Linked DNA regions of Homo sapiens: all the other regions are linked to region 3. The links are contacts of gene promoters, found by promoter capture Hi-C in blood cells and fetal thymus (Javierre and others, 2016). All regions are on one chromosome and are shown on one strand. Each heading gives the region's core, a stretch centred on a gene start or on the middle of the fragment in contact. The rest is flanking DNA. Distances are from core to core; before and after follow the strand shown. Region 1 has its middle 30 kb from the start of LACTBL1. Region 2 overlaps LOC105376845 (a long non-coding RNA gene). Region 3 holds the start of C1QA (complement C1q A chain).

The links. Contacts are between HindIII fragments. The CHiCAGO score rates a contact against its expected background, and 5 or more counts as called.
Region 1: a fragment that was not itself captured here is called in contact with the fragment with the promoter of C1QA in region 3 in 1 of 17 cell types (endothelial precursors); the score reaches 5.2 in endothelial precursors.
Region 2: a contact is called between a fragment that was not itself captured here and the fragment with the promoter of C1QA in region 3, in 1 of 17 cell types (erythroblasts). The highest score is 6.8, in erythroblasts.

Annotation. Positions count from the first base shown.
Region 1 is chr1:22,940,636-22,944,474 of GRCh38, forward strand. No RefSeq gene overlaps it. Among named protein-coding and RNA genes, the nearest start is that of LACTBL1, 30 kb to the right of the region's middle. The HindIII fragment of the contact is 1,964 bases long and covers 719-2,682 here.
Region 2 is chr1:22,152,994-22,156,956 of GRCh38, forward strand. It overlaps LOC105376845 (a long non-coding RNA gene), which reads left to right. Exons shown (of 5, transcript XR_947050.1): 2 at 1,910-2,333; 3 at 2,804-2,910; 4 at 3,444-3,544. Among named protein-coding and RNA genes, the nearest start is that of WNT4, 12 kb to the left of the region's middle. The HindIII fragment of the contact is 5,397 bases long and covers 1-3,963 here.
Region 3 is chr1:22,634,180-22,637,877 of GRCh38, forward strand. It overlaps C1QA (complement C1q A chain), which reads left to right and starts at 2,449. Exons shown (of 3, transcript NM_015991.4): 1 at 2,449-2,523; 2 at 3,431-3,600. The coding sequence starts at 3,438. The HindIII fragment of the contact is 10,061 bases long and covers 2,112-3,698 here.

The DNA.
Region 1 (3,839 bases), core at 451-2,950, 310 kb after region 3:
ATAAAATAACAGCATAACATTAAAAACAGAAAAGCAAGAAAGAAAACCAATGAAACAAAAAACTGGTTTGCTTCACTGTTTCAAAATTGACAAACTTCTAGAAAGACTAACAGGAAAAAAGAGAGAAGATATAAATTATCAATATGAAGAATGAAACGGGATGTCACTTTAGGCCCTGCAGATATCAAAAAAATAATAAGAGAACACTATGTATAACTCTACAGACATAAATTCAACAATTTTGATGAAATAGACCAATTCTGGGAAAAGCCAAAACTACCACAACTTGCTCATATTGAATAGCCCCATAACCATTTAGGAAATTGAATTAACAATGTTTTTTAATTACCAAAAAAGAAAATCTCCAGAGCCAGGTAGTTTCACTGGAGAATACTACCAAGTGTTTAGAGAAGAATTAATACCATCTACACAATCTCTTCCAGAAAATAGAAGAGGCAGAAACACTTCCCAATTCATTTTATGAAGCTAATATTATCCTGATACCAAAACCAAACAAAGATAATATACAAAAAAAGAAAGAAAACTACAGACCAATATTCCTCATGAGTATAGATGCAAAAATTCTTAACAAAATATTAGCAAATAGAAGTCAGCAACATATCAAAACAATTATATACCATTGAACAGACCCAATTTTCTCAGAACTGATGTTTACAAGTGTTTTTAATAAGATAGAAATTGACCCTTCCAGTCTTGAAGCTTGAGAAACTTACATTTTTCTTATCTGAGTTCCTTTCACAGGAAATTGGCTATCAGGGAGCTGAAACTTTCCACATCACTGCATCTGGACGGTGAGGTGCCAGACCCCTTATCTGACTCCCTGATGCCTGTTGACCAACTCCTATATAAACCCCTAACTTTAGTTGGTTGGGGAGAGAGATTTGAGACTTGTCTCTCATCTCCTGGCTGACATCACCCACAATAAAGCCTTTCTTCCTTGGCAATACTCGTTGTCTCAGTGATTGGCTTTCTGTGGGTGAGAACTGGACCTAGGTCAAACCCCTGGCATTCAGCAACAAAATTCTGGTGTCCTGACTTGGATTGCATTGCTTGTGACTTGGCAGCCACAGGCTGGGAGAGTTTTGAAAACCCTTCTAGCAGATGCCCAGCCATATTTGGCCAGAGGTTTCAGTCTCTCTCTCTTTGGCCCCAACTGCAGTCCTGATTGCCTAGGAAGAATATTCTTTGAAATTTGACATCTGCATCTGGACAGGTGAGTGTCCTTTGTGGGTACTAGACAGTAGGAGCTGCTCCTGTCAAATTGGGAAATTCTGAAGAATTTCCATTTGTTGCAGGTTAAACAAGCCCAACCCACTAATGTGAGAGTGGAAAGCACTCTATTTCAGTTCAGACACTTTGGGGGCTTGTTAATCACTACTGCAGTTAGATTGATTTTTGTTCTGTTTTGGTTTGAGACTGAGTTTCAGTCTGTCACCCAGGCTTGAGTGCAGTGGCGTGATCTTGGCTCACTGCAACCTCCACCTCCTGGGTTCAAGTGATTCTCCTGCCTCAGCCTCTCAAGTAGTTTGGACCACAGGCATGCACCACCATACCCAGCTAATTTTTGTATTTTTAATAGAGACAGGGTTTCGCCATGTTGGCCAGACTGGTCTCGAACTCCTGACCTCAAGTAATCCACCTGCCTTGGCCTCCCAAAGTGCTGAGATTATAGGCATGAGCCACCACACCCGGCCTAGATTGTATTTTGATAAGTGTTTGTGTGTGTGTGTGTGTGTGTGTGTGTGTGCGCGCACGTGCGCATGTGTGTACGTGTGTGTCTATTTCCTGCACCTTCTTTAAACTTTTGGTTTGAGGGACTCCCTTCCTGAGCCCCACCAGAAAACAGTCCAGAACCCCTGTTGATCAGCTTCCAGCTGGGGTCATGGAGGGGCACTGCCAGACTGTAACCAGTCCTCACCCCATTATTAGGATCTTCTGTGTGTAACCGATCAGCCTTTTCCTGAGCCTTTTCTAGCACTGTATGACACTCTTCAGATGTCAGCAAGACTTTAAGGAGGCTCTGAACATCAGCCCATGTAGGGCCATGAGTCATGAAAATAGACTCAAAGAGGTTAGTTATACATTTCAGGTCATCCCTATAAGCAGGTTTGGTCTGCTTACAATTATGTAAGTTTGCATCATTCCAGCGGGCTGTCCTTCTTCAGCTAAACCCCCAACAGGGACCTGTCTCAGAGGGAACTGCCCTGTAGAGAAGGGTAGCAGAACCCAGCCAAATTGTGTCCCCTGATGGGTCCAAGAGGATGAGACCATTTCTCTGGAGTTCCCAGATGTCTCCTTGGTGAAAGGAGAGAGCAAAGGAAAATATGGGGGAAGACCTGGCAGAACTCAGGTACGGGTCCTGGGTCCATAAGTGAGAGGGCTAGCAGGAGTCAGGAAAGGGTTTTGCAGGGTTTGGAAGTCTCAGGGGTTGGGGCCATCAAAGAGGCTGAAGCTGACCCCAAGGCAGCTGGTGGAGAGTGCTGAGATGGCTGGGCTGGGGTTATAGAAGTTGTAGTAGGCTCTAAGGAGAATTCTTCTTTGCTGGTGACATGGGGATCATAGGGAAAAGTGCAGACTCACCACCCTTCTTAAAAGCCTCCATCCATTGCATCAGAATTTTACATTTAACTTGATTGGTTTGTTCTGATAAAGGAGTATAAAAGCTTAGACATCAGGGATTTCATCCTACTTTCCCATTTGATAGCAAAATGAAACTAGTTGTAAGATATAATTTATCAATTTTGAATAATTTACTCAAGCAGGCTGCATTCTGGGGTTGAATTTTGTTTTATTATTATTTTTTGGGGGGAGGTCAAATTTTGATTTCCCATGACTATATCTAGACAAGAAGTGGATGAGAACCCATTAGCATTTTGGAAAGAATTTTGGAGGCTTATCAGAAATATACAGATGTAGGCCGGGCACAGAGGCTCACACCTGTAATCCCAGCACTTAGGGAGGTCAAGGCAGGTGGATTGCTTGAGGTCAGGAGTTCGAGACAAACCTGGCCAGCATGGTGAAACCCCGTCTCTACTAAAAATACAAAAAATTAGCTGGGCATGGTGGTGCACGCCTGCAGTCCTAGCTACTCAGGAGGCTGTGGCAGGAGAATCTCTTGAACCCAGAAGGCAGAGGTTGCAGTGAGCCGAGATCGCACCACTGCACTCCAGCCTGGGTGACAGAACGAGACTCTGTCTCAAAAAAAAAAAAAAAGAAAAAGAAAAAGAAAAGAAAGAAAGAAAAGAAAACAAATATACAGATGTAGATCCGACAGTCCTAAGAATTCCATGTTAATTAATGTGAACTATTTTGTAATACGCAGATGATATCTTGATAGCCAGTGAAATGGAGGGTAACTCCATCCTCCATGCCATCAAAGTCTTAAATTTCCTGGCAGATAAAGGGTACAAGGTTTCTAAGAAAGAGGCATAGATCTCTCATCCCACCATTCAGTACCTGGGATTCAAGGGACTCACAATCTTCTCCCAGATCACAGAGGCAATAAATCAGGTGGCAGTCTCCAGTATCCTTAAACAACTACGTGGTCCTTTAGGGATGCCTGGATTTTGTCAAATTTAGATCCCTAACTTCAGGTTAATAGCCAAACCTCTCTAGGAGACTTTAAAAGAAGAAGAAAGGGAACCCCTTTCTTGGAGTAGAGAATGCCAAAATGCCTTTCTAACCATTAAAGAGAAATTGATGACAGCCCCTGCCCTGAGTCTCCCTGACCTACACCAACCTTTTGATTTATTTGTTCAAGAAAAACAGGGAATTGGACTTGGAGAATTAACTCAAGACCTTGGGACCTTAAAATGTCC
Region 2 (3,963 bases), core at 176-2,675, 480 kb before region 3:
AATGGGCCTACGAGTATCTTTCTTTTAAATGGGAATAGACATAACATTCATTCCTTTCCTATCCTCAACCTTTGCAAAAAAACTTAGAAGAAATAAATGGGCTTGTGAATTAGTAGCCTGAAAAAGCTGCAACTCAAGGGATTGAACATGAAGTTGGAATGGTAATTCTGGAATGGTTGAGGCGTCCCTAGCTTCTGCAACTGGTGGTTGGGCTGAATGATCCTCTCTGGTCCTGGGGTGAAGGAGTCCTTTCTCCTGGGGATGAGAGAGCTGGTTTGCTTATGTGTGCAGGGCCAGGGCTGGGCTGAGAAATTCATGGAGAACTGGGGTGGGGGCTGCATTCCACCCTAGGTGTGACTTAGAACTCTCTCTTGGGCTGGTGGAAGGTAGGATGGCCCAGGACAGACCTGCTCCCCTACGCTGGACAGGGAATTTCCTGGAAGAGGTGACCTAGAGTTTAGGCCTGAGGGATTGGGAAGGTGAGCTTGGCAGGTGGTGAGGGGAAACTGTTCTAGTGTTCTAGGCTAAGGAAAGAGCATGTCCAAAGGCCTGGAGGTGAGATGGCAGGGTGGGACTGAGGAAGGAAAAGTTCAGAGTGGTGGCTGGGCAGGTGAGGAGAGGCTGGGCCACGTGCAAAGCTGGAAGAGGCCAGCTTGGGCCAGGGAACGAGGGAAGAGAAGCCTTGGAGGAGGCTGACGCTTGTGGGGCTCTGCGTATATGTGTGTGTGTGCATACATGTGTGTGTGAATGTGTGTTGGGGAGGTGGATGGGGCACAGGGGGCAGTATCTTCAGCCTCCTACCAGCAACTATGCACACAGAAGCCCAGCCGGTATCCCCACAGAGGCAGACGCCCCGGCACTGCCTTGTCGGAAACCCGCCGGGGCAGGAGCAGCTGCTTCTAAATCAAGGCCAAAGGCAGCCAAGGGGCCGGGTTGGGTTTGGTGGTTCTGCTGTATGGGCTGATGTGGGGGCAGGGGCTGAAGGGGGCTCTTGGGCAGGGATTCTGGGCCAGAATGAGCCTGGCTGGTTTGGGGAAGTTTATTTTGGAAGCTGGGATGATGCAAAATTAAGTGGGGAGGAAAAAATAGATGAGGCGACCGAGAGGGTCTGTCTGTGGCTGGCGGGGCTGTAAGTGGCCAGCGAGAAGTGCGTTGTTGGGTAAACAGATGGGGGTGGCAGCTTTCTGCACGCTCGCTATAAATATCCCGCAGTTTGCCGCCCCTGCTGGGGTTTCCTGGCACCGTGGGTGTGGAGATCAAGGTACAGACACAGGGCACTTCCGGAGTGGCAGAGGGTGGCCAGGGCCCTGCTCAGATCCCAGCCTCCTGGGGGTGGAGTGGGCACCGGGAACTGAGGCTGAGGCCCGAGTGGGGGCGGGAGATGCTTCTTTGCTATTAACTGGCTGTGGTTCTTGGGCAAGCCCTGTGACTTCCGTGGGCCTCAATTTCTTCACCTGTAAGATGGGCATGATAAAATGAGGCAGGGCATGTGTCGCTGCTGGCACAGGGACAGGCACCCTGGAGACACTCAGGAAATGATCAAGTGCTTAGGCGCTGTGTGACCTGGGCGAGTTCTCTCGTTGCCCTGAGTCTCAATTTCTTCATTTCTTCTTCCAAAATATGGGGAGAAGAACCACTGTCTGGAGGCTGAAATGGAACCATGGGTCTGGCACTGGACTTGCAATGTGTGTGGTATTTCAGGACAAAGTTGGGGCCCGGCTGGAGCCCTCCCCCAGCCCTCTGCAGCTGCTATGGGATTTGTCTCATCTCTGCAGTATGGTAGTGATGATAATGGTGATAATAGCAGCCAGGCCCACTGCGAGCCTTTTGGTGACCCAAGGGCTTTGTAAACTGTTATCTGAGTTCTTCGTTATCTCAGCTGATTTTCCCACCTCCTCACCTCTTACAGATAAAGAATCCGAGGCGCAGAGAGGTGGCACTGCTGGAAGGAACAGAGCCAGATCCACAAGATCCTTCATTCCGACAATAAATATTCACTGAAGATCTGCCACATGTCAGGCCCCAGCCCAGGTGCTGGGGATTTAGCAGAAAACCAGCCAGACCCATTTCCTGCATCCATGGAGTGCACAGGCTGGTGGGGGAGATGGGCTAGAAATCCATGAACCAAATTATACTGAGACGAGCGAGCACCGAGCGCCTAGCGTGGACTGCGACCGCTCGGGCTCCTGTATCTGTGACAGATGTGCTTGGGCTCCTCGTAGGACCGAGGGACTTTGTTATCCACACCACTGGCCTTGAAGTTGGCTGCTACCTGATGAGATGAATTAAGAACATACCAGCACTTTGGGAGGCTGAAGTGGGTGGATCACGAGGTCAGGAGATCAAGACCATCCTGGCCAACATGGTGAAACCCTGTCTCTACTAAAAATACAAAAATTAGCCGGGCGTGGTGGTAGGCACCTGTAATCCCAGCTACTCAGGAGGCTGAGGCAGGGGAATCGCTTGAACCCGGGAGGCGGAGGTTGTAGTGAGCCGAGATCACGCCACTGCACTCCAGCCTGGGCGACAGAGAGAGACTCTGTCTCAAAAAAAAAAAAAGAAAAAAAAAAAGAACATATATTAATATATTCAGTTCATCAAAACAGTCCCTGAATACACCTCTGTGCAGAACTTGTGCGAGCCTCTGGGGACCCAGGGCTGGTCAGGCTGGCTGGGCAGAAGGGGATGAAAACATTGCCTTATACACACTTGTAGAATATGTCGCAATGGGAGAAATCTTCCCATAGCTTCTCATGAGTCCAGTGAATTAGGCAGGGCAGGTATCATTGTCCCTATTTTACAGATCAGGAAATTGAGGTCCAGTGAGGTGTCTTGGCCAGGACACTCAGTCAGGACGTGACATGAACACAGGACTGTCTGACTTCAAATCCAGTGCTCCTTCCCCTGCAGGTGAGAAGGGGCCCCTGTAGCAGTGGGAGAGGGCCCAAGGCCCCAGCTGCCCCTGAGGACCCCTTCAAGCTCAGCAGTGAGACTTTGGCCAGGGGAAGGGCAGGCATTTTATCCCGTCTCTTGCATTCCGTTCAGAAGGTCCCTGTCTGCAGCTGGAGGGTGGAAGGGACTCTGGACAGGGTCACTAGAGACCCTGCTCTGCCCTTTACCAACAATGCTGTGGGAATCCGGCGCATGCTCTCTGAGCCTGCGTTCTTCTCTGTAAACGAAAGGGTTGGACTTGATGATCTCTAGAGAGCATTTTAGGCCCTGGGGGCAGAGCTGGGAGCAAGGATCCATCTGAGAGTGGTTCAGGACAAGACTCATGCTCCAGCCCCAGCTGGGAGACTTGGTCTCTGGCTGATGGTGAAGTCTCTACCCACAGCGAGCCGAGCCAGGGAGCTGGGGAGGGAGGATATCTTTGCAGGCCACTGGGATCTCTGCAATGAGGCCATGGGGCCAGGGTCTTTCTGCTGTCTCCCCTCCCTGCCCAGTCCCCACCCCACTGACTGGGGGACAGTGCTCCAGGCAGCTGGAATGGGACACGGTTTGTGTGGCAGCGAGATATCCAGGCTCTCCTCCTTCCAGATCTAAGGTAGGAATGCACTTCCCACCCCCTTGAAGTTAGAGGTGGCTGTGTGACTGGCTTCGGCCAGCAAAATGTGACAGCAAGCAACAACTAGCAGGATGGGGGTGACTTGGGACCTGGGTGGGGACAACACAGAGCAGATGGGGCTTTGGGGTCTCTCCCACTGCTCTCCCATCCATAGGCATGCGGTGTGAACAGGAGCAATCCCTTCACAGTGTGGAGCCACCGGCTTTGGAGTTGTTTGTGGCTGCAGTGTGTAACCCAGCATCTCCTGACTGATGTTATAGGTTCTGCCGGAGGGGCAAATGCGGGCAGCAAGGGCTTGCAGCCCTGGAATTAACAAATGAGTACTAATGAGCCCTCCCTTCCTCCCTCCCTCCCTTTCTCCTTTCCTTCCTTCTTTTCCAAAATATATTTATCCATCT
Region 3 (3,698 bases), core at 1,199-3,698:
GGAACAGTGAAGGGTGTGTGAGTGAACATGGGGTCTGGCCACTGCACACAGTCAGACATGCCGGCTGCTGCAGCGGGGTGAGCAGCTCCAGGTGCCAGCATGGGCGCCAGCTCTCTGAGAGGTTGTGGCTAGACCAAGTACACCACAAGCAGCTTCCACAGCTGGCACCGGGGAACACGGTGGCACCCAGAAGCTTCGAGATGCCAGGAACCACAGGGCCCCGAAAAGGGAGTCACAGCTCCAGCTTGGGGAGCTCCCAGGTCTGGGTTCCCCAGAGGGCCGCAGCTCTTCTTTCCTTCCCTTCACCTGCATCATGGCAAGCAAGGGGCATGTTTCAGCCTTGTTTGTGTTACAGCTCTTTCAGCCCCACCATTTGATGGGTCCCAAGTTCTTATCCTGCAACCAGGAAGAATGAGGTATGCAGACAAGTGGGGAGTGAGCAAGACGAAGAGGAGCTTTACTGAGCGATAGAACAGCTCAGCCTCCTGCAGAGCCTCCCTCAGGGGGCAGCTCCTTTCCACAGCCAGGGTGTCCTGATGAGTGTTCAGCTGCTAGCAGAGAGGAGACCCTGGAATGGGAAGCTCCTCTCTGCAGGCAGGTCATCCTGTCGACTTTCCAGCTCTCAGAAGAGGGAAGACCCTGGAATGGGAAGCTCCTTTCTGCAGGCAAGTTGTTCTGCCATCTCTGCAGCTCTCAGCAGAGAGGAGGCCCTGGAGCGGGTAGCTCCTCTCGGCAGCTGGTCATCCAATGTCTGCCCAGCTCTGGCTGAGCCTGAAGCTTTCATGAGCCTCAGAGAGGAGGAAGTGCATACTGATTGGTCCATGGGTGGCTATAGGCAAGCCCAGAAAATACACCATAAGTTCCCACTCTGGTGTGTGGGACTGGCAGCCTGGCCCCCAGCCTTGAGGCCCTCCCTGGCTTGAAGGTAGGGCCTCACCAGGGACCCATCCCCTTCCACCCAGGAGCCTGTCTGTCTCCTGCTGCTGTTCATGGTGCCCAGGCTGTTCATGCCAAGGAGCGTCTGCAGGCCAGTGCCGAGCTGCCCTCAGTTTCCCCTTGGCTTTCCTTCCATGCTAGTCAGTGCCCAAAGTCCAGAGGGGGCCAAGGCAGCAGGGGTCTAGTGTGTCAGCACTGCCCCAAGCATGCCCACACCCAGCCAGGCTGCGACAGCACCCAGGCTCAGCACCAACTTTGCTCTAAGATCAGAGTGGGCGCCAAGAGGAGGGAGAAGCCAGGCAGTGGGAGCAGACACTTCTGAGCCTGAAGGGTGGGGCGGGGGGCCTTCCCGGGCCCCCAAGATTGCAGGGATGCCTGGGTCCACAGCTGCAGTTTAGGCAGCTGCAGCTGCATGGGGGATGGCGGGGGCCCCCACCTGCTCCATGAAGCAGGATCAGCTGTGGTTTGGCAGCTGCAGTGGTTCCCAGGAGGGCGGGGTTCCCACTGTCCCCAGCTCCCACTGGCTACATGGAGCATGCAGCCCTGGCCGTGCCTCCCTGCTGCAGCCAGTGTGATGACAGCAGCCATTCCAGACGGCCCGCCATTGCCATCTCTTTTTTTTTTTTTTTTTTTTGAGATGGGGTCTTGTTCTGTCTCCCAGGCAGGAGTGCAGTGGTAAGATCAAAGCTCACTGCAGCCTCAACCTCCTGGGCTCTAGCAATCCTCCCAGCTCAGCCTCCCAAATAGCTGGGACTACACAGGTGCATGCTACCACACCTGGCTATTTTTTAAATTTTTAGTAGAGATGGAGTTTCACCATGTTGGCCAGGCTGGTCTCGAACTCCTGACCTCAAGTGATCCGCCTGCCTTGACCTCCCAAAATGCTGGGATTACAGGCGTGAGCCAAAGCACCTAGACTTGCTGTTTTTTTAAATGTTGGCAAAAGCTAGTGACTAAGTGTTCACCATGTGCCAAGTGTTTTGTATGTGCAAGTCATTAAAATGTTATAATAATCAGATGATATAGGACCCCGTTCCCAGTGTACAGATAAAACTGAGGGCTCAGGAGGTCAAGTAATTTCCCAAAGACATGCAACTAGGAAGCAGCAAGTCTAGAAACAGATTGCTGTGCTTCCTTCTCACCAATGCACTGTTCTTTCTTCTTTGTATTTTCCAAGCTTTTGGCAATGAATTGCATGTCACTTTCATAATCATGAAAAGTCCTACAAGGGACAGATTTTTTTAAAGATTCCTTCCGCTCTGGTGTTCTGTGCTTCGCTGGTTCTCAGAACCTCACCCTGCACGGCCTCCACCCCACATCCTCACAGGCACTGGCCTCACTGCCCCCACTCCCACACCAGCTGTTGCTGGGGCAGGACGCCCAATGTCCCAGTCTTGCTGAAGTCTGCTTGAAATGTCCCTGGTGAGCTTCTGGCCACTGGGGAAGTTCAGGGGGCAGGTCTGAAGAAGGGGAAGTAGGAAGGGATGTGAAACTTGGCCACAGCCTGGAGCCACTCCTGCTGGGCAGCCCACAGGGTCCCTGGGCGGAGGGCAGGAGCATCCAGTTGGAGTTGACAACAGGAGGCAGGTGAGGCCAGAGTCCCAGAGGGAGGGGGCTGCAGAGTTCTGGGACCCAGGGGAGCTGGCCCAGGAGGCTGGGCAGCTGAGGCAGGGAGGGAGGGAAATAACTGTGCCTGATTCTAGGACAGGGATGGGGGTGCAGCACTGATCCAGGACCCAGAATGGGTGAGTGGAGGGACCTTAACTCCTTGAGCCAGGGCTTGGGGGAGGGTGAGAGGCGATGAGTTAGACCTAACAACTGAAGGGTAAGACCAGGGTTCCTGGGTCCTGGCCCCATAACACATAAGAAACCAGGAAAAGCCTGGGGTGCTAGAGCTGGCAGTGGGACCCAGCAGAGGGGACTGTAGGGGCAGCCAGTCACCCATGCTCAGGTGGATGCTGAAAGGCGCTGAGCATGCAGAAGAGTGAGCAGGTGTCGCTTTGGGCGTTTGTGAATTCCTGTGTGTATGCAGAGCTCCACCATCTGGGTGAGCCAGTGTTAATTAAATAAGGAGCAGGCGCTCAATACATATTTGTTCAATGAAATCGATTACCTGTGGGAGTGTATGAATGTGTGTGTCCGTGCAAGTGAGGGACAGGGTCTATTTGGGTATCAGTTGTGTGTCTAGGGGGGTATAGTGGATTTCTGAGTTTGCCTACTGTGTTTTGTAGGTGCGTGGATGAGAGCTGTGTTTGTGTGAGTGTGTGAAGATGTGGGTGTGCTCTGTTGCATGTGTGGATGTGTGTGAGTTTGTGGTTCTGTGTATATGCGTGGGGTCCTGGGGCTGGATTGAGAGTGGACATTGAGAGCCCCAGAGGGTGCATGTGCACTTGGGGAGGACTGTGCATATATCATTGTGTGCATGGGACTCAAGGGTGGGAGCTGGGTGTGAGTGTGATGTCCAACCTGCCCAGGCCCTCCCGTGTCTCCACAGAGGCATCATGGAGGGTCCCCGGGGATGGCTGGTGCTCTGTGTGCTGGCCATATCGCTGGCCTCTATGGTGACCGAGGACTTGTGCCGAGCACCAGACGGGAAGAAAGGGGAGGCAGGAAGACCTGGCAGACGGGGGCGGCCAGGCCTCAAGGGGGAGCAAGGGGAGCCGGGTAAGCACCCTTCCTCGGGACCCAGCCCCTTGGACCTTGGCCTGACTTGGCCTCCAGGGTGAAGGCTTGGGGTGGCACTGAGAATCAGGAGTCCGTCT